4 separate regions of the Homo sapiens genome follow, and all the other regions are linked to region 2. The links are contacts of gene promoters, found by promoter capture Hi-C in human tissues and cell types (Jung and others, 2019). All regions are on one chromosome and are shown on one strand. Each heading gives the region's core, a stretch centred on a gene start or on the middle of the fragment in contact. The rest is flanking DNA. Distances are from core to core; before and after follow the strand shown. Region 1 overlaps LOC105372317 (a long non-coding RNA gene). Region 2 holds the start of ZNF66 (zinc finger protein 66). Region 3 overlaps ZNF430 (zinc finger protein 430). Region 4 overlaps ZNF431 (zinc finger protein 431).

The links. Contacts are between HindIII fragments. The study calls those that stand out against the background at their distance.
Region 1: a contact is called between a fragment that was not itself captured here and the fragment with the promoter of ZNF66 in region 2, in 1 of the 25 tissues and cell types used here (bladder).
Region 3: a contact is called between a fragment that was not itself captured here and the fragment with the promoter of ZNF66 in region 2, in 1 of the 25 tissues and cell types used here (pancreas).
Region 4: a contact is called between a fragment that was not itself captured here and the fragment with the promoter of ZNF66 in region 2, in 1 of the 25 tissues and cell types used here (aorta).

Annotation. Positions count from the first base shown.
Region 1 is chr19:20,433,291-20,439,878 of GRCh38, reverse strand. The region is part of intron 1 of LOC105372317 (a long non-coding RNA gene); the gene reads right to left. Among named protein-coding and RNA genes, the nearest start is that of MIR1270, 37 kb to the right of the region's middle. The HindIII fragment of the contact is 4,344 bases long and covers 2-4,345 here.
Region 2 is chr19:20,772,943-20,779,140 of GRCh38, reverse strand. ZNF66 (zinc finger protein 66) reads right to left here and starts at 2,837. Exons shown (of 4, transcript NM_001355197.2): 1 at 2,691-2,837. The coding sequence starts at 2,693. The HindIII fragment of the contact is 10,177 bases long and covers 1-4,782 here.
Region 3 is chr19:21,033,424-21,039,902 of GRCh38, reverse strand. It overlaps ZNF430 (zinc finger protein 430), which reads right to left. Exons shown (of 5, transcript NM_025189.4): 3 at 6,321-6,447; 4 at 5,719-5,817. Among named protein-coding and RNA genes, the nearest start is that of ZNF430, 16 kb to the right of the region's middle. The HindIII fragment of the contact is 7,227 bases long and covers 103-6,479 here.
Region 4 is chr19:21,183,346-21,190,069 of GRCh38, reverse strand. It overlaps ZNF431 (zinc finger protein 431), which reads right to left. Exons shown (of 5, transcript NM_133473.4): 5 at 1-6,724. The coding sequence ends at 6,036. It also overlaps the pseudogene VN1R82P. Among named protein-coding and RNA genes, the nearest start is that of ZNF431, 45 kb to the right of the region's middle. The HindIII fragment of the contact is 3,792 bases long and covers 3,215-6,724 here.

The sequences.
Region 1 (6,588 bases), core at 924-3,423, 340 kb after region 2:
TCTTACATCAGACAAAAAGACTTTAAAGCAAAAACACTTAAAAAAAGAAAAAGACAAAGTGGGACATTACATAATGATAAAAGGACTAGTCCAACAAGAAAATATCACAATTCTAAATATATATGCCCCTAACACTGGAGCTCCCAATTTATTAAAAAATTACTACTAGACCTAAGAAATGGGATAAATGGCAACACAATAATGATGAGGAACTTCAATACTCTACTGACAGCACTAGACAAGTCATCAAGACAAAGTCAATGACAACAACAACAAAAAAAGGACTTAAACTATAATCTAGAACAAACAGTCTTGACAAATATTTACAGAATATTCTAACCAACAACTGTAGAATATACATTTTATTCATCAGCACATGAAACATTCTCTAAGACAGACATATGATGGGCCACAAAACAAGTCTCAATAAATTTAAAACAATCAAAATTATATCAACTACTCTCTCAGACTACAGTGGGATAAAAGTGAAAATCAACTCCAAATGAACCCTCAAACCATGCAAATACATGGAAATTAAATAAATACATGGAAATTAAATAAAACATAAAATTTACAATCAACCTGTTTTTGAATGATTGTTGTATGAAATCAAGATGGAAATTTTAAAAATCTTTGAGCTGAACAATAATAATGACACAATCTAACAAAACATCTGGGATACAGCAATAGTGGTGTTAAAAGGGAAGTTCATAGCATCAAGTGCCTACTAAAAAGTCTGAAAGAGCATAAGTAGACAATCTAAGATAACACCTCAAAGAACTAGAGCAACAAGAACAAGCCAAACCCAAACCCAGCAGAAAAAAAGAAATAACAAGGATCAGAGCAGAACCCTAGCAGGAGGGGTGGCTGCAGTCTCTGTGGACCAGCAGACTTAGCCTTTCCTCCTGCTAGTTTTGAGGGATTTAAGCAGCCCAGATGAGTGGATTTTCCCACAGCAAAACACCTCCCTCCACCAAAGGACAGTCAAAGTGCTTCATTAAATGGGTTCTGCTCCCCATCTGCTCCCCATTCCACCTTCAATAGGAATTGTCAGACACCCTATACAGGAGCAATTCTACTGGTATCAGATTTGTGTCTCTTGAGGTCAGAGATGACAGAGGAAGGAACAGACATTCTTCTTTGCTGTTCTCCAACCTCCTTGAGTAACATCTCTAGGCACGGGAGTGAACCAGATGGATAGGGCTTGAAGTGAACCCTAGCAAACTGCAGCAACCCTACAGAAGATGGACCTGACCATTGAAAGAAAAACAAACAGAAAGCAACAACAACAGCATCAACAAGAAAAAAAAGTACCCACAAAAACCTCATCCAAGGCTGCACATAGTGGCTTACACCTGTAATCCCAATACTTTGGCCAACATGGTAAAACCTCCTCTCTACTAAAAAATACAAAAATTAGCCAGGCATCCTTGTGCATGCCTGTATTCCCAGCTACTCAGTAGTCTGAGACATGAGAATCACTTGAACCTTGGAGGCAGAATTTGCAGTGAACTGATATGGTGCCACTGCAGTCCAGCATGGGTGACAGAGACTGTGTCCAAAAAAAAAAAAAAACCATCCAAGGGTCAGCACCCTCAAATGATTGAAACTAGACAAACTCAAGATGAGAAAGAATCAACAAAAAATGGCTGAAAGGCCAGAGTGCCTCTTTTCCAAATGATCAAAATGTCTCTTGAGCAAGGGTACAGAACTGAACAGAGAATGAGATGCATGAATTGACAGAAGTAGGTTTCAGATGACGGTTAACAACAAACTCTGCTGAGCTAAAGAAACATGTTCTAACCCAATTCAATGAAGCTAAGAACCTTGATAAAAGGTTAGAGGAACTGCTAACTAAAATAACCAGTTTGGAGAGGAATATAAATGACCTGATGGAGCTGAAAAACACAGCACGAGAACTTCATGAAGCATACAAAAGTATCAATAGCCAAACTGACCAAGCAGAAGAAGGATATCAGAGTTTGAAGACCACTTTGCTAAAATAAGGCATGCAGACACGATTAAAGAAAAAATAATAAAAAGGAACCAACAAAGGCTCTGAGAAATATGGTGTTCTTTGCAGGAAATGAGTGAGTGGAGAAGAAAAGACATACACACAAAATACCTTTAAAGATAAACAAGATTTATCCCACGTAAATGGCAATGCAGATATAGTAAGTAAATTTATATAATAAGAAAATTGCAATGGGAAGGGGAGAAGGGAATATATATATATATGTGTGTATATATATATATATTTACACTCACCAGACTATGGAGGATTTATCACCAGACCAGGAAGCAACAGTCTGGGCTCCAGAGTCAGCCAACAGTCCTTGCACAGACTAGGAGAGGTTTCTTGAAGCTTTAGTGTGGTCTGGGACCCTAGCTCTTCTTGTAACAAGTTGTTTGGCATGAAGCCCAGTCACGAGGGCCCTTTGTGACTGGGCTCAAGAAACACAAAAAGGTCAACTTGTTATTGTGATTGGCTATTGTTTTACAATAACTAACATATAGGAATAGATTGAAATAGAGACTTCTCTGAAACAGTGCTGAATGAACGCCTCAAAGGGGCTCACACAACCTGTGCCAAGACTTGGTGACCTTTATTTGTGTCCACGTTCAATTGAGTTCAAATTTAATACTTAACTTTTCGTCAACATTCGGCCTCAATTCGGTACTCAATTGTATTAAAATACCGTTATAGATACATGGGGAACTCATAGTTGACATAGATTATGGATACAGGGTAAGCATAGGAGAATTAAAAGCACAATTTAAAAAAAAAAACATACTCATGGCTTTGCAAGGAGACTAATATTGTGAGAATTGCCAGGGATATACACACAACATCCAGTATGCAGTAAGGCGCAAACCCCTCCTTGGGCTGCGGTAAGCATATCTAATGCCATTTGATTTTGCAACACAACAGTACGCAGCTGAGCAAATTCATCTGATAACAGCATAAGTCCAGTGCTACTATCATTAAGAGCTTTTTCTACATATAAGCTTAATATTTTAATTTGTTGGTGAAGCAGGATTGTTCTAGCGGCAGGGGAGAATACTGTGATAAGGTATCGCCACCAAGGAGGCCGGCACATTCATAACCAGTGGTGTTTGTAAGCATCCAGATTACTTGGGAGGGGGATATTATCCCGGATGGTGAATGGAATTAATGGCCACCCACAAGTGATCTCCCTGCCCAGTGTGGGGGCAGGTACCAACACCCACAGGATCTGCATACCCAGAGGGCCCCCCAGGGGACAGCCATGGACCTACTGTAAACATACTGTACTAATGTGTTATTAAAATAGGAAAGAGATTGTGGTTCATTGGGGGCAATGTTGTTGATTTGGAGTATGTGTTGACAATTGTCTGGAGAAACCCCAGAGTAACATTAGAGGAGCCATTTAAGGCCTCCAGATGAAGCAGGGGCTGTGTGGAATCCAGCCACCAGCACAGCAGGTTTCCAATATATACCGTTCCAGGAATATTGGGCAAAATACCAAGGCTTTTGATGGAAGGTGAGGGTGGAGTTCACCTTTTGTCTGACCTGGGCAAAGACAGATTGCTTAGTGTGGTGAAAGGAAGTCCAGGTTGGATTACAAGTGTTGTTGTTGTGGCCCCATTGATAACGACATAGCCATTCAGAAATATTGTCAGGGACGATTCTTCAAGGTAGCCCATTCCTGGCAGCCTCTGGCAACTCGATGTACAGCCAACATTCTCTGTGATTGGCTTTTGTTGCAGCAGTGGCTACCTAGTAAATGAATTTATTCTTGGCTTTAGACACAAAGACACAGGTGCTGACCATTAGTAGATAGGTTATTCCTTGTAATAACAAAAACAGAGGGGAACATATTGTTTTTCATCTTTAGGAAATTGTACTATGCCTTCATTTTCTGCTTTCATAGCTACAAGGTCACCAGCCTTAGGGGCAGGATCTGTTGAACCCTGTATCCATATATTGGCTCCAGGATTTAAGCTACCTGTAGGAGTGGATCTGAATCCCCCAATTCTGTATGTAGCCTCTGTTGGGGCAGAGATTTCCTCACGGGATAATTGTTGACAAGGTACCACTAATAATTGAGCAACAGGCATCTGCGGTCTTATAGCAAAAAAATCTGGAGTGGTATTGTATAAAATGTCCTTTAACTCTCCCCGGTAATCACTACCAATTATAGCACCATACATTATAATGCCTCTCATTGCAAGGCTTGAACACATTGTATTCCATTCATGCACATTCAAGTTTACAGTTATGGTGGAAATTTTGGCCTGTTGATCTTCCTGCTAATTAAATGGTCTGTCAAAAGAAAGCAGAGACCCATGAGCATCAACATGGAAAAAGGGCCAGGAACGATGGCTCATGCCTGTAATCCCAGCACTTTGGGAGGCTGAGGTGGGCAGATCACGATGTCAGGAGGTCAAGATCATCCTGGCCAACATGGTGAAAACCTGTCTCTACTAAAACTACAAAAATTAGCTGGGGGTGGCAACGTGTGCCTGTAATCCCAGCTACTTGGGAGGCTGAGGCAGGAGAATGGCTTGAACTGGGAGGCGGAGGTGACAGTGAGCCTAGATTGTGCCACTGCCCTCCAGCCTGGTGACAGAGCTAGACTCTGCGTTAAAGAAAAAAAAAAAAAAAAAAGGAAAACAGTGATAATGGTAGTCTGTGCCAGGATTGAGATATCTTTCCAGTATTGTTTTCCCCAAGCCCCTTTATTCCCAATTAGCCATTTGTTTTGTTGTCATTGGAGCATAGAGGTAGTAAGACCATTTGCTACTGACCAAGAGTCGGTATACAAGTGACAGATCTCTCTGGCCTCTTCCTGAAGAGCTTAGAATATGGATACTAGTTCAGCTAACTGGCTGCTCCCACCACTTCCTTCATCAGGAATGCTTATGTTTTTGTTTGTTTGTTATTTTTTTTTTCTTTTTGAGATTGAGTCTCAGTCTGTTGCACAGGCTGGAGTACAGTGGTGTGATTTTGGTTCATTGCAACCTCTGATTCCTGGGATTCCAGTGATTTTCCTGCCTCACTCCCCCGAGTAGCTGGGATTACAGGTGCACACCACCACCCTGGCTAATTTCTGTAATTTTTAGTAGAAATGGGGTTTCACCATGTTGACCAGGCTGGCCTCGAACCCCTGACTTCGTGATCTGCCCAACTCAGCCTACCAAAGTGCTGGGATTACAGGCATGAGCCACTGCATCTGGCCAGTAATGCTTATGTTTTAACAGGATTAACAGAAGCCACAGCCTTCCAGCATTGGGTCCCACCAATGTATTTTGTGGATCCATCCATAAATTAAGCATGTTTCTGATCATTTGGGCTTAGTTATTTAAAAGATTGGCCCCTTTGGGTGGATTGTGGGGGGGGTTTCTTTCCTATCTGCAGGATAGTTTGGTGGTTTTTTGAGCGGACAAGTTTCGTACATCCTCATGTAAAAGTGATAACCCCTTTGGTTTTGGCTTAGCCTGGTCTTGTATGTACCATTTCCATTTTATGATGCTACTTCCTTGGGCATGTCCTATCTGGTGGGTTTTGGGGAATTCATGACACCAAGCCATGATAGGAATTTCAGGCCTCATAAAGACATCAAGGTTGAAGCAGTGGTGTTCTCTTTTCAGCAAAGCCCAATCACAAGCTAACAATTTCTTCTACAAAGGGGTATAAGCTTTGCCAGCCTCTGGCAGTTTCTGGGTCCCAAACCCGAAAGGTTTCTGCCTAAGGCTCAAATTAGCAGGTTGATCTGGGACAGTTACTTGCAGTTCTACTGGCCCATCCCATATGGGCCACAGATCCAGGGCCAGTTGCACCACTTGTTTAGCTTGTTAAAAGCCATGCTCTCTTTCTCTCCCCAGTGAAAGTCATAGTGTTTTTTAGTGACTACATGCAGAGGTTGTAAAATGTTACCCAAGTGGGGAATATCATGTTTCCAGAATCCAAACAAACCAATAAATTTCTGGTCCTCCTTTTTGGTGCTAGGGGTTGCAAATTCTGGTATTTTAGCCTTAGCCTTTGGTAAAATGGGCTATTTCTCTGCATTCCATAAGATGTCAAGGAATTGTACACTTTGTGCAGGTCCTTGAATTTTACTAAGGTTAATTTCCCATCCTTGAGACAGGAGCTGGGTTTTGCTTATTTTGTTTGTTTGTTTGTTTGTTTTGAGACGGAGTCTCACTCTGTCACCCAGGCTGGAGTGCAGTGGTGCAATCTCTGCTCACTGCAAGCTCTGCCTCCCTGGTTCACGCCATTCTCCTGTCTCAGCCTCCCAAGTTGCTGGGACTACAGGCAGCCACCACCACGCCTGGCTAATTTTTTGTATTTTTTAGTAGAGACTGGGTTTCACCGTGTTTGCCAGGATTGTCTCAATCTCCTGACCTCATGATCCACCCACCTCAGCCTCCAAAAGTGCTAGGATTACAGGCATGAGCCACTGTGCCTGGCCAGTAGCTGGGTTTTTACCTGCTCCAAGCCTAGCTAACTAGTTCTTCAGTTTTACCATGATGGGGCCATTTGGACAGCTGCTTTTTTCATCAATAGGTGGATATCTTTGAGCCTGATCAGTCAAGACATAGGCC
Region 2 (6,198 bases), core at 1,588-4,087:
AGACCCTCTCAGTTTCCTTTCATCTTAACCTCAACTGCATCTGCCTGTGGGACCCCAGCTTTCCAGGGCTCTGTAGCTTCTCTCAGGATAAAGGCTCCTTCTATGGCTGGGGTGAGCAGGCTGGACACCTGCACGGGAGGCTCCCCAGAAAAAACTAACTGAGTCTTCAATATCCAGTTGCAGGCTTAATTATTAGCCTTAGCTTGGAGTCACTAGGTTCAAGCTTTAATTTCCATGTCAGAATTACTCACTTAGTTTTTGAAACTATGTGTTTGAAAAATCCAGGGAAATTACTCAAACGCAGTGTTTACATAAGGGAAGGAAATTTTAAGGTTCTTACTTTTTTTTTTTTTTTTTTGAGACGAAGTCTCACTCTGTGGCCCAGGCTGGAGTTCAGTGGCATGATCTCGGCTCACTGCAACCTCCACCTCCCGGGTTCAAGACATTCTTGTTCCTCAGCCTCCCAAGTAGCTGGGAATACAGGCATATGCCACCACACCTGGCTAACTTTTGTATTTTTAGTAGAGATGAGTTTCACCATGTTGGGCAGGCTGGTCTCAAATTCCTGACCTCAAGTAATCAACCTGTCTAGGCCTCCCAAAGTGCTGAAACTACAGGCATGAGCCACTGCACCTGGCTAAGATGCTTGCATTTTATACCCCTATAAGAAAAGCATATATATCTACTTCTTTCAGACAATGTATGTATTATTTTATTATTTATCTTAAAAATAATGCAGTAGGCCGGGCACTGTGGCTCACGCCTCTAATCCCAACACTTTGGAAGGCCAAGGTGGGTAGATCACGAGGTCAGAAGATTGAGAACATTTTGGCCAACATGGTGAAACCCTGTCTCTACTAAAAACACAAAAAAATTGGCTGGACGTGGTGACACACACCTGTAATCCCAGCTACTTGGGAGGCTGAGGCAGGAGAACTGCTTGAACCTGGGAGGCAGAGGTTGCGTGAGCCGAGATCACGCCACTGCACTCCAACCTGGTGACGGAGTGAGACTCTGTTTCAAAAAAATAAGTAAATAAATAAAATAATGTAGTAAAAAATTAGTCATATGGGAACACTTCTAGAAGGTACCATGTTTCATCACTTAAAATTTAGCATTTAACTCAGAAATCAAAATAAAAGGATATAGAAAAAATTTACCCTGCAAAAAGAGGAACTAATGTGTTGATGAATCCATGTAACTCCTCAATTATCTACCACATTTTCCTGTGGAAATATATTCATTGTCTACAGCCAAAATGGAAGAGAGATTTTCCCTATATTTTTCCTTGGTAACTAGCATTCCTGGCAAACATGGTGAAACCTCATCTCTACTAAAAATATGAAAACTAGCTGGGAGTGGTGGCGCTTGCCTGTAGTCCCAACTACTGGAGAGGCTGAAGCAGGAGAATCGCTTGAACCCATGAGGTGGAGGTTGCAGTGAGCCAAGATCTGACACTGCACTCTAGCCTGGCGACAGAGCAAGACTCCGTCTCAAAAAATAATAATAATAATAATAATTAATTGAGGAACATGGGGGACACTTGAGGCCCTGCTTGGGACACATGTGAAAAATGCCAGGGAAAGTCAGTCCCCTGTGGGATGTGAAAATAATTAAGTGGCAGGCAATTAGACTGAAGAGGCTCTAGTCCCCGGATTTCTATTTCTAAAAAAAAAAAAAAAAAAAAATCTAAGCTCAAGTGCATTTTTTGGCAAATTACTACATTAGGGGAAACAAAATTCAGGCTTCAGCAACTATAAACTGCCAATTAAGCTCTAATTACATAACCAGGAAATTTCCACCTTGATTGTACAAATTAAGAAACTACATTACTAAACCTAACAAATTATTGAATTTGGTTTTCCTCATCATGCATTTTATAAATGTCTTTTCTTCAAGCCTCTCCCATGGACCACAAACTACAAACTATAGCTGGGTGCTCTACAATTCTTGAATCACTCTTTGATTAAATTGTTTGATATTTTTGCAGTGACTCCCATAATTTTTTTTTTTTTTTTTTTTTTTTAGACAAGAGTCTTGCTCTGTCGCCCAGGCTGGAGTGCAGTGGCAGGATTTCAGCTCACTGCAACCTCCGCCTCCCGGGTTCAAGCGATTCTCTCACTTCTGCCTCCCGAGAAGCTGGGACTACAGACATTCGCCAACATATCCACCTAATTTTTGTATTTTTAGTAGACAAGGGGTTTCCCCATTTTGGTCAGTCTGGTCTTCAACTCCTGACCTCAAGTGATCCGCCCGCCTCGGCCTCCCAACGTGCGGGGATTACAGGCTTGAACGACCGCGCCCGGCCCCATACAATTTTAATAGCAGAAAAGAGAAACTGTGAACCCCACAGACCAAAGCTCTTCCCATTCATGAACCCGCACCGCGAGTCAGCATTCTCCCCTGAAGACCCTCCGGTGGTCCCTGCACAATCTGGGAGAGACACGGCACTGCGGGTGCAGAGCTGCCCACAGAGCGCTCCAGGCCAGGGGCACAGTCACTGCGCGGGGAAGCGACAGGACGCCCGGGGGCCAGGCTGTCAGCGTAGCCGCCATCTTATGGCTGAATGGGACTGAGGCAGAGCTGGGTAAGGAGAATTCGGGGTGCAGATTGTGGAGCTGACTGAGGGGAGGCCTGAGTCCCGCCACAGACACTTCACCTCTCTCGGGATGCTGGACCGGCACTCTCACCATTTCTAGGCTTCCAGGGGGTCCTGGCGTCTTAGCTGTGGATCTCCCAATACCTGCAGGACACAGGGCCACAGAGGCTGGGCCTCTAGGAGAAGAAGACAGAGAGCAGTGAACAGACGACCTGGAGCTCCAGCTGCAGGGAGAGACAAAGACCCCGCCAAATCCGGAAGCCGTCCTGTTCATTCCAGCTGCGTGCCTGATTGGACGGTTTCCAGCCCAGCGCCTCTGATTGGCTAATGCTTAAGGTCCCGCCCCCTCAGACACTGAGTGACAGAAGATGTGATCAGCTGCTGGGCGGAGTGAAGAAAAGAGTGACAGCCTAAGCTGCAGCCTTTTCAGGCAGGGCTTCCTCCCAGAGCTGAGCCTGGTCCATGCCAGAGCATGGGAACATTTTATCTCTTTTTTACTCTCTGTCTTGTTGAATGTATTCAAAGGTGAACAGAAGTATTTTGCTGTCATATTAATAATACATAAAATTTTTGTTCAAGAGAAAATCAGCTTTTACTTTGGTAATAGTGTATTAACGATTAAAGCTAATTTTAATAAAACCTTATAAATAAATCAAATTTGTCATTTTTGACCACTCCAGATTTACATATATATTTTGTAATCCCTGTAATTTTTTTATCTATTTATATTTTATTTTTATCCACATTCTTCTTATTTTTTCAACTTGAAACAACCTTTAAGTAATTTCAAACTGCTATAAGAGATAGAAATAATTTAGGGTCAGGCACAGGTAGCTCATGCCAGTAATCCCAACACTTTGGGAGGCCAAGGTGGGTGGATCACTTGAGGTCAGGAGTTCAAGACTAGCCTGGCCAACATGGTGAAACCCCATCTCTACTCACAATGTAAAAAATTAGCTGGGTATGGTGGTGCACATCTGTGGTCCCAGCTACTCCGGAGGCTGAGGCAGGAGAATCACTTGAACCCAGGAGGTGGAGGTTATGTAACAGCCCAAGGGGTTCATTTTGCCCTTTGCCTAGACAGAGCCAATTCATGAAGACAGGAGAATTTATGGAGGAAAAGTTAAATGTTAAATTTGAACTCAATTGAACGTGGACACAATGGTCACCAAGTCCCAGAACAGGTCCTGGTTGTGAGCCCCTGAGGTGTTCATCCAGAGCTGTATCAAAGAAATGTCTATTTCATTCTATTACTATACATTAGTTGTTGAAAAACAATAGACAATCACAAAAACAACTTGACCCTTTTGTGTTCCGTGAGGCAAGTCCCAAATGGCCCTCCTCACTGGGCCTTATGCCAAACAACTCGTTACAAAAGAGCTAGGGTCCCAGACCACCCTGAAGCTTCATGAGACTCCTTGTCTGTGCATGAATGGGTGGCCGACTCTGGAGCCTGGGCTGTTTCTTCCTACTCAGTTGGTAATCCTCCATAGTCTAGTGAGGGTAAATATATATATATATCTTTTCCCATCTCCTCTTCTTACTGCAATTTGCTTATTATATCAATCTGTGTATTATATTTATTTGCTTATTATATCATTTGCTTATTATATCATTAGTTTATTCTGTCTGCATTGATATTGATGTGGGTTAAAGCTTGTTTACCATTAAAGTTATTGTATGTATGTCTTTTCTTCTCCTCTCCCACGTTTCCCATACAGAACATTTTTGGCATCACAAACAGGATTTGAAAACAAAAGTGGGCCCCTTTTTGACCAGAAGGATAGGGCTGGAGGCTCAAGGATTTCCCATATCCTGAGATGGGATCACTCCCAGTTCTCCTTCTTTGTGATTGAATGGTTCAGGGGAACTGGCCTTTGTGGGAATTGGGAATCTAAATTAGTGCAATTTAAACCTTTGACTGTGCGTGAAGTGCTGCAGGGGATTCCAGTCACCAAAGGAGATGCTGAGGGAATCTCACAAAGTGGATAGTGTTTGATTGCTGCTTATAAGTTAATGTGTCAAGATAGGGGCTGGTTGCTACAAGAGAAATATAAGCTGGAAAAGGAAAATGCTAATCTGACTTCCGGACTGGCCCTGGCCCAATGCCAGTCAATGTCTTGACTGATCAGGCTCAAAGCTATCAGCCTATTGCTGAAAAAAGCAGCTGTCCAGGTGGCCCAATCAGGGTAAAACTGAAGAACTAGTCAGCCGGGGCTTAGAGCATGTAAAAACCCAGTTCCTATCTCAAAAATGGGAAATTAAGCCTAGTAAAATTAAGGATCCGCACAAAGTGTAAAATTCTTTGGCATCCTATGGAATGCAAAGAAACAGTCCACTTCACCAAAGGCTAAGGCTAAAATACTATAATTTGCAACCCCTACCACTAAGAAGGAGGCCCAGAAATGTATTGACTTGTTTGGATTCTGAACACATCATATTCCTTACTTGGGTAACATTTTACAACATCTGAATGCAGCCACTAGAAAAAGGTATGACTCTCACTGTGGAGAGAAAGACAGCATGGCTTTTGAACAAGCTAAACAAGCAGTGCAACTGGCCCTGGATCTATGGCCTATATGGGATGGGCCTGATGAACTGCGAGTAACTGTCGTAGATCAACATGCTAATTGGAGCCTTAGGCAGAAACAAGATGGAAAGAGGGTACTTTTCATGTTTTGGACCCAGAAACTGCCAGAGGCTGGAAAAGCTTATTCCTCTTTTGAGAAGCAATTGTTAGCTTGCTATTGAGCTTTGCTGGAAATGGAACACCTCTGCTTCAACCACGATGTCTTTATGAGGCCTGAAATTTCTATTATGACTTTGGTCATGAGTTCCCCCAAAACCCACCAGATAGGGCATGCCCAGAAAGTAGCATCATAAAATGGAAATGGGACATACAAAACCAGGCTAAGCCAAAATCATAGGGGCTATCACTTTTACATGAGGATGTGGAAAACCTGCGAGCTCAGGAAACAACCAAGCAAGTCCTGCAGATAGGGAAAGAAACACCCCCCACACACACACATCAAATGGGGCAAATCCTTTAAAGAACTAAGCCCAGAGGATCAGAAACATGCTTGGTTTACTGATGGATCCACCAAATACTTTGGTGGGACCCAATGCTGGAGGGCTGTGGCTTATAATCCTGTTAAAAACATAAGCATTTCTGATGAAGGAAGGGGTGGGAGCAGCCAGTTAGCTGAACTAGTAGTCGTTTCTCCGAGCTATTCAGGAGGAGGCCAGAGGGATTTGTTACTTTTATATCAACTCTTTGTCAGTAGCAAATGGTCTTACTACCTGGGTGCCCAAGTGGCAATGAAACAAATGGTTAATGCGGAATAAAGAGGTTTGGGGAAAACAATATTGGTAAGGTATCTGAATCCTGGTGCATACTCCCATCGTCACTGTGTTCCATGTTTTTTTGTTGTTGTTTTTTGTTTTTGAGATGGAATCCAGCCCTGTCACCAAATTGAAGTGCAGTGGTGCAATCTCAGCTCACTGCCACCTCCATCTCCACGGTTCAAGTGATTCTTCTGGCCTCTGCCTCCCAAGTAGCTTGGATTACAGGCACAGGCTGCCACGCCCAGCTAATTTTG
Region 3 (6,479 bases), core at 2,467-4,966, 260 kb before region 2:
GCCACTATACTCCAGCCTGGGTGACGGAGTATGATCCTGTTTCAAAACAACAACAAATAAATATAAGAAAACCAAAATCATACACTGTGTGTTTTCTGACCAAAACTGAATGAAACTAAAAATTAAAAGCAAAAGTAGGCCGGGTGCGGTGGCTCACACCTGTAATGCCAGCACTTTGGGAGGCCAAGGTGGGTGGATCACCTGGGGTTAGGAGTTCAAGACCAACCTGGCCAACATAGTGAAAACCTGTCTCTACAAAAATACAAAAATTAGCCGGGCATAATGGTGGGTGCCTGTAATCCCAGCTACTTGGGAGGCTGAGGCGGGAGTATTGCTTGAACCTGTGAGGCGGAGTTTGCAGTGAGCCAAGATCACACCATTGCACCCCAGCCTGGGCAACAGAGTGAGACTCTGTCTCAGTAAAATAAATAAATAAATAAATAAATAAATAAATAGCAAAAGTAAAACTGTTAAATCCAATAATATATTTGAAAAAAAAAAACACATGGGCCGAGTGTAGTGGCTCACGGCTATAATACTAGCACTTTCAGAGGCCAAGGCAAGAAAATTGCTTGAGTCCAGGAGTTCCAAACTAGCATGGGCAACATAGGAAGACCCTGTCTCTAAAAATAAAAATAAATAAAATAAAAATAAGGCCAAGCATGGTGGCTCATGCCCGTAATCCCAGCACTTCAGGAGGCTGGTGTGGGCGAATCACTTGAGGTCAGGAGTTTGAGACCAGCCTGGCCAACATGTGAAGCCCCGTCTCTACTAAAAATACAAAAGTTAGCCAGGCATGGTGGTGGGCACCTGTAATCCCAGCTACTCAGGAGGCTGAGGCAGGAGAATTCCTTGAACCCGGGAGGCGGAGGTTGAAGTGAGCCGAGACCATGCCATTGCACTCCAGCCTGGATGACAGAGAGAGACTCTGTCTCGAATCAATCAGTCAATCAAACACACTCTTCAGCTAAAGGTTCAAAAAGTTTAATTTAGTTAAGTTGTCAATACAACCTACAGTGGTGAACAAATTCAATATAACCTCTATAAAAATGACAATAGCACAGTTTTATTACACAAATATTGTTTAAAATTTTTAAATTTCATTATGAACTATAGCCAAACACCCATGAAAAAGAATAAACAGGCATTATACTTCCTGATTTTTAAACATATTAGGCAGGGTGCAGTGGCTCACGCCTGTAATGCCAGCACTTTGTGAGGCCAGGGTGGGGGATCACCTGAGCTCAGGAGTTTGAGACCAGCCTGGTCAACATTGTGAAACCCCCGTCTCTACTAAAAATACAAAAATTAGCCAGGCGTGGTAGTGCACGCCTGTAACCTCAGCTACTTGGGGGACTGAGGCAGAATAATCGCTGAAACCCAGGAGGAGGAGGTTGCAGTGAGCTGAGATCGAGCCACTGCACTCCAGCCTGGGCGACAGAGCCAGACTCCATCTCAAAAATAATAATAAAAAATTAGAAGCTACAGTAACAAAAACAGTGTAATATTGACACAAAGGCAGATGAACAGATGAAAGAACAAAATATGGAGCCCAGAAATGAAACCTTTTATATATAATCAAATGATCTACAAAGCTGCCAAGAGGAAACAATAGTCTTTTAAAAAACAATGTTAAAAACTAAATATCAATACTGATAAAATAAGGTTGGATCATTTCTTTGAATCATATACAAAAATATTTTAAGTAAAATACTTAGACATAAAAAAACTAATAAGTCTCTTAGAAAAAAATAGAAAGAAGACATGACATTGGTCTTGGCACCATTTTCTTAGATAAGACACTAAATGCCTGAGGAACAACAACAAAAAATTAACTATGCTATACTTCAAAATTTCTGCACATTAAAACAAAACATTTAACTCAGTGAAAATGCCTCCGAGAAAATGGGTAAGAATATTTCCAAATTACATGTCACAGTTAATATTCAGAATATATAAAAAACCCTTAAAACTAAGTTAAATAACTTGATTTGAAAATTAACAATTGAACTAAATTTTTATCATAAAAGATACACAAATGGAAAAAGCATTTGAAATGACATGCAAAATTAATAATTTGTAGAGAAACACATAAAAATAACAATGAAAAATGAAATCATGTCATACCCATTACAATGGCCACTATAAATTATTTAAAAACACCAAATCTGTTGATGATGCAATGAAAATAAAACCTATGTCAATTGTTGGTAGAAAACAAAGATGCAGTCATTATTTTTAAATGTTATAAATGTTTCTCAAGTAATTAAAAATGGAATTATCATCAAATACAGCAATCCTCTTTATCAATTTAAAATATGCAACACATGACCTGGAAGACATATTTGAACATCCATGTTTATTGTACTAGTATTCACAAAAGCTAAAAGGCTGCAGCAACCCAGGTGTCTCTTGATTTATAAGCATATCAAAAATGTAACATATGTGTAGAGCGAAATATTATTCAGTCTTAAAAAACAAAATCTTGCCAAGCGTGTGACTCACACCTGTAATCCCAGCACTTTGGGAGGCCGAGGATGGCAGATCACCTGAGGTCAGGAGTTTGAGACCAGCCTGACCAACATGGTTAAACCCTCTCTCTACTAAAAATAAGAAAAAAATTAGCTGGGCATGGTGGCACATGCCTGTAGTCCCAGCTACTCGGGAGGCTGAGGCAGGAGAATCGCTTGAACCAGGGAGGCAGAGGTTGCAGTGAGCCGAGATTGCGTCATTGCACTCCAGCCTGGGTGACAGGAGACTCCGTCTCAAAAATAAAAAAAAAAAAAAAAAAGAAAATCTTGTCACATTTTAAGATAAACTTTGAGAATATTATGTCACCTGAAATAAGCCAGTAACGAAATGATGGATACAGTATGATTCCACTGATATGGGATATTTTAATTAGTCACACTCATAAAAACAGAAAGTGGAAGGGTGTTTGTCAAGGGCTGGAAAGAGGGTAAAATGGGTTGCTGTTATTTAATGGGTATTGAGTTTTAGTTTCACAAAATGTAAAATATCTAAGTCTTTTGCATAACAATGTGAATATAATTAACATGCCTGCCTGAAATGTAGAGCTGTGGTTTTTTTTTTTTTTTTTGGAGACACAGTCTCACTCTGTCAAAAAGCTGGAGTGCAGTGGTACAATTATGGCTCACTTCGGCCTCAAACTCTGAGGCTCAAGTAACCCTCCCACCTCAGTCTTGCAAGTAGCCTGAACCACAGATGCACAACACTATGCCTGGCTATTTTTAAAAAACATTTTGTAGAGAGGGACTCTCCATATGTTTCCCAGGTTGGTCTCAAACTTTTGAGCTCAAATAATCCTGGATTACAGATGTGAGCCACCACCATGTCTGGCCCTAAAAGGTACACCTAAATAGATTTAAGATGGTAAATATTATGTGTTTTTACAACAATTAATTTTTCTAAAGGAAAAACTGAAAAAAATACAGATTTATAAATCTTTTCAAAAATTACCTTCAAATTACAAAAGTGTTTCTCTCACACAAAGGTGAGAGAAACATCATCATTAAACACATGGTGAAAATAAGAGATGGTGAAAATATTTCCATGACTACTCACTTAGGTGAGATAAAACAACCACTGAAAATTGGCTAAGAAAGAATATATACAAGATAAGCCATAACCAATATTGGGGTCATATTTATAGATAAACACACACACACATATATATCTAATTGTGACAGACATATGGCTGATTTATCTCTTAATTATAAGAGATAAACCGAATTGCAAACTGTCTAAAATTATAATACAAAAGTGAAACAAAAAAACACAATAACTCAATGTTAAGAAACCTACACTAACAAAACACTGATATGAAACTGCGCAGTAATAGTAAGTGACATATTTACTCATAAAATCTGCTGTGCAACACTGATATACCATTAAAAAAGAATTTGTCTGCATAACTACAGTAATCCTCTCCGGTACTCAATAAACGCCATACTCATTCACATCCTGATATAAGGACCATTATATATGAACCTGACTGCAGAAACCTGCCCTATTGTCTGCTCTACAGATCAAAGTGTTGAAGGATATTCAGTCTGTCCAAAAATAAAATGGGAATTACCACTACCCAAGCCCCTGTAACAAGCCAACTAAAGGTGGACCCTAGTGCAGACCCAGCAGCCTTGTGACCAAGCTACACCCCCTCTCCACTACAAACCCAGAGAGCATTCTATGACCCTGGAGACATGACAGAAAAAGATCTTTACCTACTGAAACCAGTTTATAGAAGCTTGAGGAGTTGTTTGCTCCTTCAAATTCACAGACACTAATGCAAAACTACATTGTGCCCATTGTCAATGCTTCTATTTTAACATAGCACTGGAAGTATGTGGCAGAATAATGAGTCAAAAACATTTTTAAAAAGCCACTGAAATTGAACACAAGTAAAAAGTTGCTGTTTGTGGATCATATGATTTTATATATAAAAAACCATGAACACTACATTGAAATTTGTCTGAATTAATACACTCAGTAAATTAGCAAAACATAAAATTAACACACAAGTATGAAGTTATTGTTCCATACACTTTAACAGAGAAAGAAAACAATTTAAAATAGCATTAAAATGATAAATTTCTGAGAACAAGGAAGTAAAAAATCTTTACAACGAAAGATATGTTATTAATAAAAGAAATTAGAGAAGACACAAATTTAAAAATATTGCATGTCTACAGATTGAAAAAATAAATATTGTTAAAGTGTCCTATTATCTAAGTAATCTATAGATTCAATAAATTCCCTATCAAAATTTCAGTGGCATTTTTCTTCACAGTAATGGAAAATACAATTCTAAAATTTACAAGAAACAACAATAAACTTCAAATAGCCAAAGCAATCGTGAGGAAAAAGAACAAAGTAGAAAGACATGATGCTTTATAATTTCAAACTATATTTCGAGAATATAGTAATAAGAACAGAATGGAGTGTGCAGAAAAGTTAACAACAACAACAAAAAACAGTGGAACAGAAACCACTACTATTACACATTTCAGACATGATGCAAAAAGAGAACTAAGAAAATAGTTTGGCCAGGTGCAGTGGCTCACACCTGTAATCCTAGTACTTTGGGAGGCCAAGGCGGGTGGATCACTTGAGGTCAGGAGTTTGAGACCAGCCTGCCCAACATGGTGAAACCCTGTCTCTACTAAAAATACAAAAAATTAACTGGGCATGGTGGCAGGTGCCTGTAATTCCACCTACTCAGGAGGCTGAGGCAGGAGAATTGCTTGAATCCAGGAGGCAGAGGTTGCAGTGAGCCTAGATCGTGCCATTGCACTTTAGCCTGGGCAACGAGCATGAAACTCAGTCTCAAAAAAAAAAAAAAAGAAAGAAAAAAGAAAAGAAAATAGTTTAACATAGAGTTTCTCAAAATCATGTAGATATTTGTGTGTCCCCCAAAACAATGGAAAAGCAGTCAGATTGTGAGTCTCGCATGCCATGAAGAGGACTTTGGTTCTGATAGCAAACTTGAAGGGAGATCACCAAGGGGAAAGAATCCTTGAATTTAAAAGCATAAGACAGAAGATGACCCTATGCGAGGGCAAAATTAAAAAAAAAAACTCAGGCTTCCCAGAAAATATTTGCTTTGGAACACAGATTCTCAAATAACATTTTAAGCATTGGCTTTCTTCTTTTTTGGACCTCTCATTCATGTCGTCTGTTGTGTTCACTCTCACCTACCTGGGGGTTGATCTACCATCGCATGTCTCTTCATATTCCAGGGCTCTTTTCCTTGCTCTAGACAGGTGATCAGGTCTGGCTTAGAAACAGCAATACCTGCTTTATTGAAAATAAATAACATGAATCTTTCTCATATTCTTCAGTTACCAACCTAGTACTGTGCTTAGTAAAGAGGATGTGGTAGAATATTCTAGAAAATTAATCCTAAAAATACTAATTTATAACAGAAATTTCTAAGTATTTAGAAAATATTTTACATTTGTAGGTTCTTAATTTCACTGCCTGGCATTCATTAATCAAAAATTGGTGGCGGCAAATAGATTTTAAGATATGGGCAACAATATTTTATGCCACTAAATTTCTGGAATTGCCACTAATCTAGAGTGAAGGATACAGATCAGCCCAGGAATGTGGAAAGTTTAAGTCAAGATAAAACTTCTTGAAAAAATTCTTTCCTATATGGAAAAATCCTCAAGGTTTTCTTAAGAACAAGTATCAGAAACTCATTTATGCAAAGCATAAATTACCAAAAATTATTCTCAAAAAATGAGAAATGAAACCTTTAGGGTATACTAGTAATTGTGTACTAAAGTTATTCTCACCCAAGAAGACCAGGTTTCTGTAGTTCTCTAACATCACTTTTCTATACAAATCCTGCTGAGCAGTGTCCAGGCATTGCCACTCCTCCAGAGAAAATTCTATGGCCACATCCCTAAATGTCAATGGCCCCTGAAAAACACAAGCACACAAGACACACGTAT
Region 4 (6,724 bases), core at 3,861-6,360, 410 kb before region 2:
AGCCTCTGGAGTAGCTGAGATTACAGGCCTGCACCACCACACCCAGCTGAGGTGTTTTTTGTTTTTGTTTTGTTGTTTTTGTATTTTTAGTAGAGATGGGGTTTTTCCACGTTGTCCAGGCTGGTCTCAAACTCCTGGGCTCAAGCAATCCACTGGCCTTGGCCTCCCAGAGCTGGGATTACAGGTGTGAGCCACCACTCCTGGCCTTAAAAAAAAAACAAAAACTATTATTCTCAATCACATGGATGAAGTTGGAGGACATTGTATTAGTTGGGATAAGCAAGGCACAGAAAGATTAGTGTCTCATAATTTCACTTACACATGGATTCCAAAAAACTTAATCCCATTGATGTAGAGAGTAAAATGGTGACCATCAGATGCAAGTTATTTATAAGAAATGGAAGGCTGGAAACATGTTTGTGAAATAATACATAATTATAGTCAAATGGAAGAAATAAGTTCAAGAGATTTATTGCACAACATGGTGACTATAGTTCATAATAATGTATTTGGATTTTTGAAAAATGATGACAGTGTCATGTGGTCTCAAAACAAAAATGTTCACCATATGAGGTAAAGTTTTTTTTTTTTTTGATAGTCACTCTGTCCCCCAGTCTGGAGTGCAGTGGTGCAATCTCGGCTCCCTGCAACAACCACCTCCCAGATTTGAGCCATTTTCCTGCCTTAGCCTCCAGGGTAGCTGGATTACAGGCATGTGTCACCACACGCTGCTTATTTTGTATTTTTAGTAGAGACAGGGTTTCCCCATGGTCGCCAGGCTGGTCCCGAACTCCTGACCTCATGTGATCTGCCTGCCTCGGCCTCCCAAATTGCTGGGATTACAAGCATGAGCCATCATGTCTGACCAATGTGAGATAAATTATTAATTACCTAGAAATAATAATTTAACTATATATATACTTCAAAATATTACGTTCTACAGAAAAAGTACAGATTCTACCTGTCACATTAAAATATTTATAAAACATAGAAGAATAACAATGTGTCAAATACTGTGTCTTTGTGATAATCTTGGTTAAATAGTATCAAAAATATATAGTTTTGGGGCTATTATTGTCATTTAATTTTTTAATCATAACCATAGAAACTTCTGATATTTAACAGCATGGTTTGGACCCAGCACATTGCATGGGAGGAGCCAACGTACTTTAGGATTTTTACTTTAAGCTTGGGGCACCTGGAGTTTCTGGTGCTGATGGTAACGGTATGAAAGACACTCAAAGAGCAGGTGTTGCTTATGGTCCCATGACTGGCCACTCTGTGAACACAGTAAACTAGTTTGCATGCAAAGTAACAGAAATGTTTTAATCCAAACGCTGTCATGATCTCCAAATGTTTTTCAGAGAAAATGACCCAAGAGTTGGCTACAGTTTGGTGACTAAAAATAAAAACTGTAGACTAAACCTCTCCCACTAAAAAATATATAAAAAATGAGTGAAAAATTTCTCCAAATTGTAAAATCAATATAGAAAAGACATTATTTTTCAAAATTTTAAATCCACTGAAGTCATTTCATTATTTTGTAACCTTTAACACTCACACTTAAAAATAAAAGATTCTGCATGGAAATATAAGTTGTGCTGTAAGTATATCATAGAAAATTAACTTTAAAATTGTTTACTTACCATTAACTCTCTTAAAAATTTAATTTCTGTATTTTCAAGCAAGTTTTATATTTGCCACACTTTGTATAAGAATCTAGTAAGATTTTTCTTTTAAAAACAAAGCTGACTAATTTAATTATCTTACCTGTGGACAGTATTGCACCTTTTATCTTTTTTTTTTTTTTTTAGACAGAATTTCGCTCTTGTTGCCCAGGCTGAAGTGCAGTGGCCCAGTCTCGGCTCACCGCAACCTCTACCTCCCAGGTTCAAGCGATTCTGCTCCCTCGGCCTTCCGAGTAGCTGGGATTACAGGCGTGCGTCACCACGCGTGGCTAAATTTGTATTTTTAGTAGACACAGGGTTTCACCATGTTGGTCAGGCTGGTCTCAAACTCCTGACCTCAAGTGATCCACCCTCCTTGGCCTATCTCAGTGCTGGGATTACAGGCGTGAGCCACACCTGGCTGCCTTTTAACTGTTCTGATAAGCAAACTCTACAGTTAAAACCAATTTTTGTGTGCACTAAAAATACCAACTTCCTCATCAAAATCTACAAAGTACCATGTGAAATGAAATGGCATGAAGACAACAGTAAGAAAACTGTAGCTATAACTCAGAAAAAGAATAGCTGTGATGCATACATAGTTGGAAAATGCATAAGACAAATCTGAAGAGAAGTAGAAAATAAAAGAATTTCTCTTTTTTTTCAGATGGAGTTTCCCTCTTGTCGCCCAGACTGGAGTGCAATGGTGCAATCTCGCCACACTGCAACCTCCACCTGTCGTGTTCAAGCGATTCTCCTGCCTCAGTCTCCCGAGTAGCTGGGATTACAGGCATGCGCCACCACACCGGGCTAATTTTGTATTTTTTAGTAGAGATGGAGTTTCTCCATGTTGGTCACCTGGTCTCAAACTCCCGACCTCAAGTGATTCGCCCACCTTGGCCTCCCAAAGTGCTGGGATTACAGGCGTGAGCCACCACGCCCAGCTCTTTTTTTTTTTTTTTTTTTTTTATATGGAGTCTCGCTCTGTCGCCCAGGCTGTAGTGCAACGGCACAATCTTGGCTTACTCCAATCTTCACCTCCGGGTTCAAGCAATTCTCCTGACTCAGCCTCCCGAGTGGGATTACAGGCACCCACCACCATGCCTGGCTATTTTTGTAGTTTTAGTAGAGACTGGGTTTCACCATATTCATCAGGCTGGTCTCAAACTCCTGACCTCAGGTGATTCATCTGCCTCTGCCAGAATTTCTCTTTAAATTCAACAAGATTCAGTTTTACAGTCTGGAAAAAAAATGTCCTCTCTATATGAACAATCAATCTTCACCATTGATATTTTTCATCTTTGACTTGAAGTTACAAACTAACTTCAGCAGGAATATTTATGAATTATTATGGATAATCTATTACACAGTGAAAACTGTAATATATGTTTGCTACATTTATATATAAAAACATCCTCATGACTAATGAAGCCTCCCTAGTACTTAGCTGAACAAATTGACTCAATAAATATGCTTATGTCAATTATAAAAAGTGAAAGGAACAAATCACTAAAGAAAACCTATATATTGTTCTCCTCTTAAAAGAACAAAATGGAGTGCTCTAACTAAATAAAATGTAACTTAATACACTACTTTTGGAATTACATCTAAAGATTATTTTGTGTGCACTAAATTTCATAAAAATTCTTATAATCGCAGACCAGCTCACATAATGAATACTTCATAAAATATAAAACAAAAAAAATGTAAGAAACAAAAAAAGTATGGGTCTAGCATGAGTACCAGGCAAGTATATACAGAGAATTTGCTTGGGAAGATTCAGAACTCTAAGTCATAGACTGTACAGTAATAAATTCAATACAAACCAAAAAGTATACATTTGCTTTCAGCATTTTTTAGGTTTTTAGTTTTATAGTAGTCACCATATTAAAATGATTTTTGTTCCCGTATCATTCTTTCCTTCTGAAAATATGTACAAACTCATACTCACACACACATACTTAACTCCATAATTTTCTTACACCTAAGATTTGTCTTTAGACTAACATGTATTTAACTCTATATGAATCAAAACTAAAAGTCTGTATATGTTTGCAGGCAGACAGGCCACATGTTCAAAGAAAAATATATAGAAAATTTGAAAATATATTTTACTTTTTGAGATGGAGTCTCGCTCTGTTGCCCAGGCTGGAGTGCAGTGGGGTGATCTTGGCTCATTGCAACCTCCACCTCCCAGGTTCAAGCGATTCTCCTGCCTCAGCCTCCTGAGTAGCTGGGATTACAGGCACATGCCACCACGCCTGGCTAATTTTTGTATTTTTAGTAGAGACGGGATTTCTCCATATTGGCCATGCTGGTCTCGAACTGCTGACCTCAAGATCCACTCCCTCGCTCAGCCTGTCAAAGTGCTGGGATTACAGACGTGAGCCACCACACCTGGCATGAGAAAATATTTATTAAGAATTTAGAAATGAATTTCATTTATACTCGTATATAATTTTTATTATGACGATAAAAATAACACTGTGGTAAATAAAAATTTAATTGTACATTTAAAAATTTTTTTTTAAAGTGTAGAATTGGATTGTTTGTAAAACAAAGGAGAAATGCTACAGATGATGGATGCCTTACTTAACCCTGCTACTATTATATATTGTATTCTCCTATTAAAATATGCTACAGGCTGGGCGTGGTGGCTCAAGCCTGTAATCCCAGCACTTTGGGAGGCTGAGGCGGGCGGATCACATGAGGTCAGGAGTTCAAGACCAGCTTGGCCAATATGGTGAAACCCCATCTCTACTAGAAATACACAAATTAGCTGGGCATGGTGGCTGGCACCTGTTATCCCAGCTACTTGGGATGCTGAGGCAGAAGAGTTGCTTGAAACCAGAAGGCAGAGGTTGTAGTGAGCTGAGATCATGCCAATGCACTCCAGCCTGGGCGAAAGAGTGAAACTCAGTCTCAAAAAACAAACGAACAAACAAACAAAAGAATCTCTCTCTTTGATGTAGCAACAATTAACCCCATGCTTTCACATGTGAATCCAATAGGAATGAAGAAACAACAGGAAATAATTTCAGAGTTGAATGATGACATTATTCAATTTTCAAAAAATCTGTAATATTTTTCAAGAAATAAAGTATACTTTGAATGTAATTATAACTCTGCAAAAAACCTTCTGATCCTCTTAAAGTTCTATACAAATAACTTTTCTACCAACTTTAGTTTCAGATTTTCTATACTTAGCACTCTGATTTAGTATATCTGAAGTGTCAGTACCTTATATATTTCTACCATAAATTCTCTGATATTTGCATAGACTTAATTATGGATTAAATATTTTACTTTTACTGCATCTGGAAAAAATATATTCTAGTATAACTGTTGATTTCTAAGCTGTAGTTTTTGAAAAATTGTTTTTCCAAATTTATTATATTTGCACAATTTTTCAATATAAATTCCCTGATGTTGAACAAAGTTTGATCAACTGCTTCAGAGTTTTCCTCTAGAAGAAAATGTCTACAAAAAGATCTGTGATACAAGTAAAGGCACTACAACCCTTTTTATATTTGTGATGTTCAACTTCAAAATAAATACTCTTCACTAAAAAAGCTTATATTTTCTGAAAGATCTTTTGACAGTAATTGCACTTATAATGCTTTTATTAAGCAGGAACTCTCTGTGTTGAGTAAAATGTGAGCAGATAATGATGGCTTTTTCACAGTCTTTATATTTGTATAATTTATCTCAAGTATAAATGCTTTCCTAGCAATAAAGTGTGAGCATTAAGTTTTGCCATATTGTTCACACATGTAGGCGTTTTCTCCAGTATGAATTATCTTACCTACAATGAAGTGTGACAACCATTTAAAGGCTTTATCTCACTCTTCAGATTTCTAGGATTTCTCACCAGTATAATTACTTTTATGGTTAGAAAAGTTTGAGGCGTTGTCAAAAGTAGTCACATCTTTCTGATTTGTAGAGTTTCTCTCCAGTATAAATTATCTTATGTCTGTTAAGAATTGAGGGCTTCTTAAAGGCTTTGCCATGTTTTTCACACTTGTGGGGTTTTTGTACAGTATAAATTTTTTTTGAGACGGAGTCTCACTCTGTTGCCAAACTGGAGTGCAGTGGTACAATCTTGGCTCACTGCAACTTCCACCTCCCAGGTTCAAGTGATTATCCTGCCTAAGCCTCCCGAGTAGATGGGAATACAGGCACGTGCCACCACACCCAGATAATTTTTGTATTTTTAGTAGAGACAGGGTTTCACCATGTTGGCCAGGATGGTCTCGATCTCTTGACCTTGTGATCCACCCACCTCAGCCTCCCAAAATGCTGGGAGCCATTTTGCATAAGCCACCGCACCCGGCCAATATTTAATGCTTAGTAAGAGTTGAGGACTGCTTAAAGGCTTTCCCACATTCTTGACATTTGTAGAGTTTCTCTCCAGTATGAATTATTTTGTTTAATAAGGTTTGAGGACTGGTTAAATGTATTGTCACATTCTTCACAGTTGTAGGGTTTCTGTCTAGTATGAATTTTCCTATGTTTAGTAAGAGTTGAGGATTGGTTAAAGGCTTTACCACATTCTTCACATTTGTAAGATTTCTCTCCTGTATGAATTATCTTATGTTTAGTAAGATTTGAGGATCGGTTAAAAGCTTTGCCACATTCTTCACATTTGTAGGGTTTCTCTCCAGTGTGAATTCTCTTATGTGTAGTAAGGATTGATGACTGGCTAAAAGCTTTGCCACATTCTTCACATTTGTAAGGTTTCTCTCCAGTATGAATTATCTTATGTGCAGTAAGTTGTGGGGACCGGTTAAAAGCTTTGCCACATTCTTCACATTTGTAGGGTTTCTCTCCAGTATGAATCATCTTATGTGTAGTAAGGTTTGAGGACTCATTAAAGGCTTTGCCACACACTTCACATTTGTAGGGTTTCTCTCCAGTATGAATTCTTTTATGTTTAGTAAGGGTTGAGGACCAATTAAAGCCTTTGCCACATTCTTCACATTTGTAAGATTTTTCTCCAGTATGAATTATCTTATGTTTAGTAAGGTATGAGAATCGATTAAAAGCTTTGTCACATT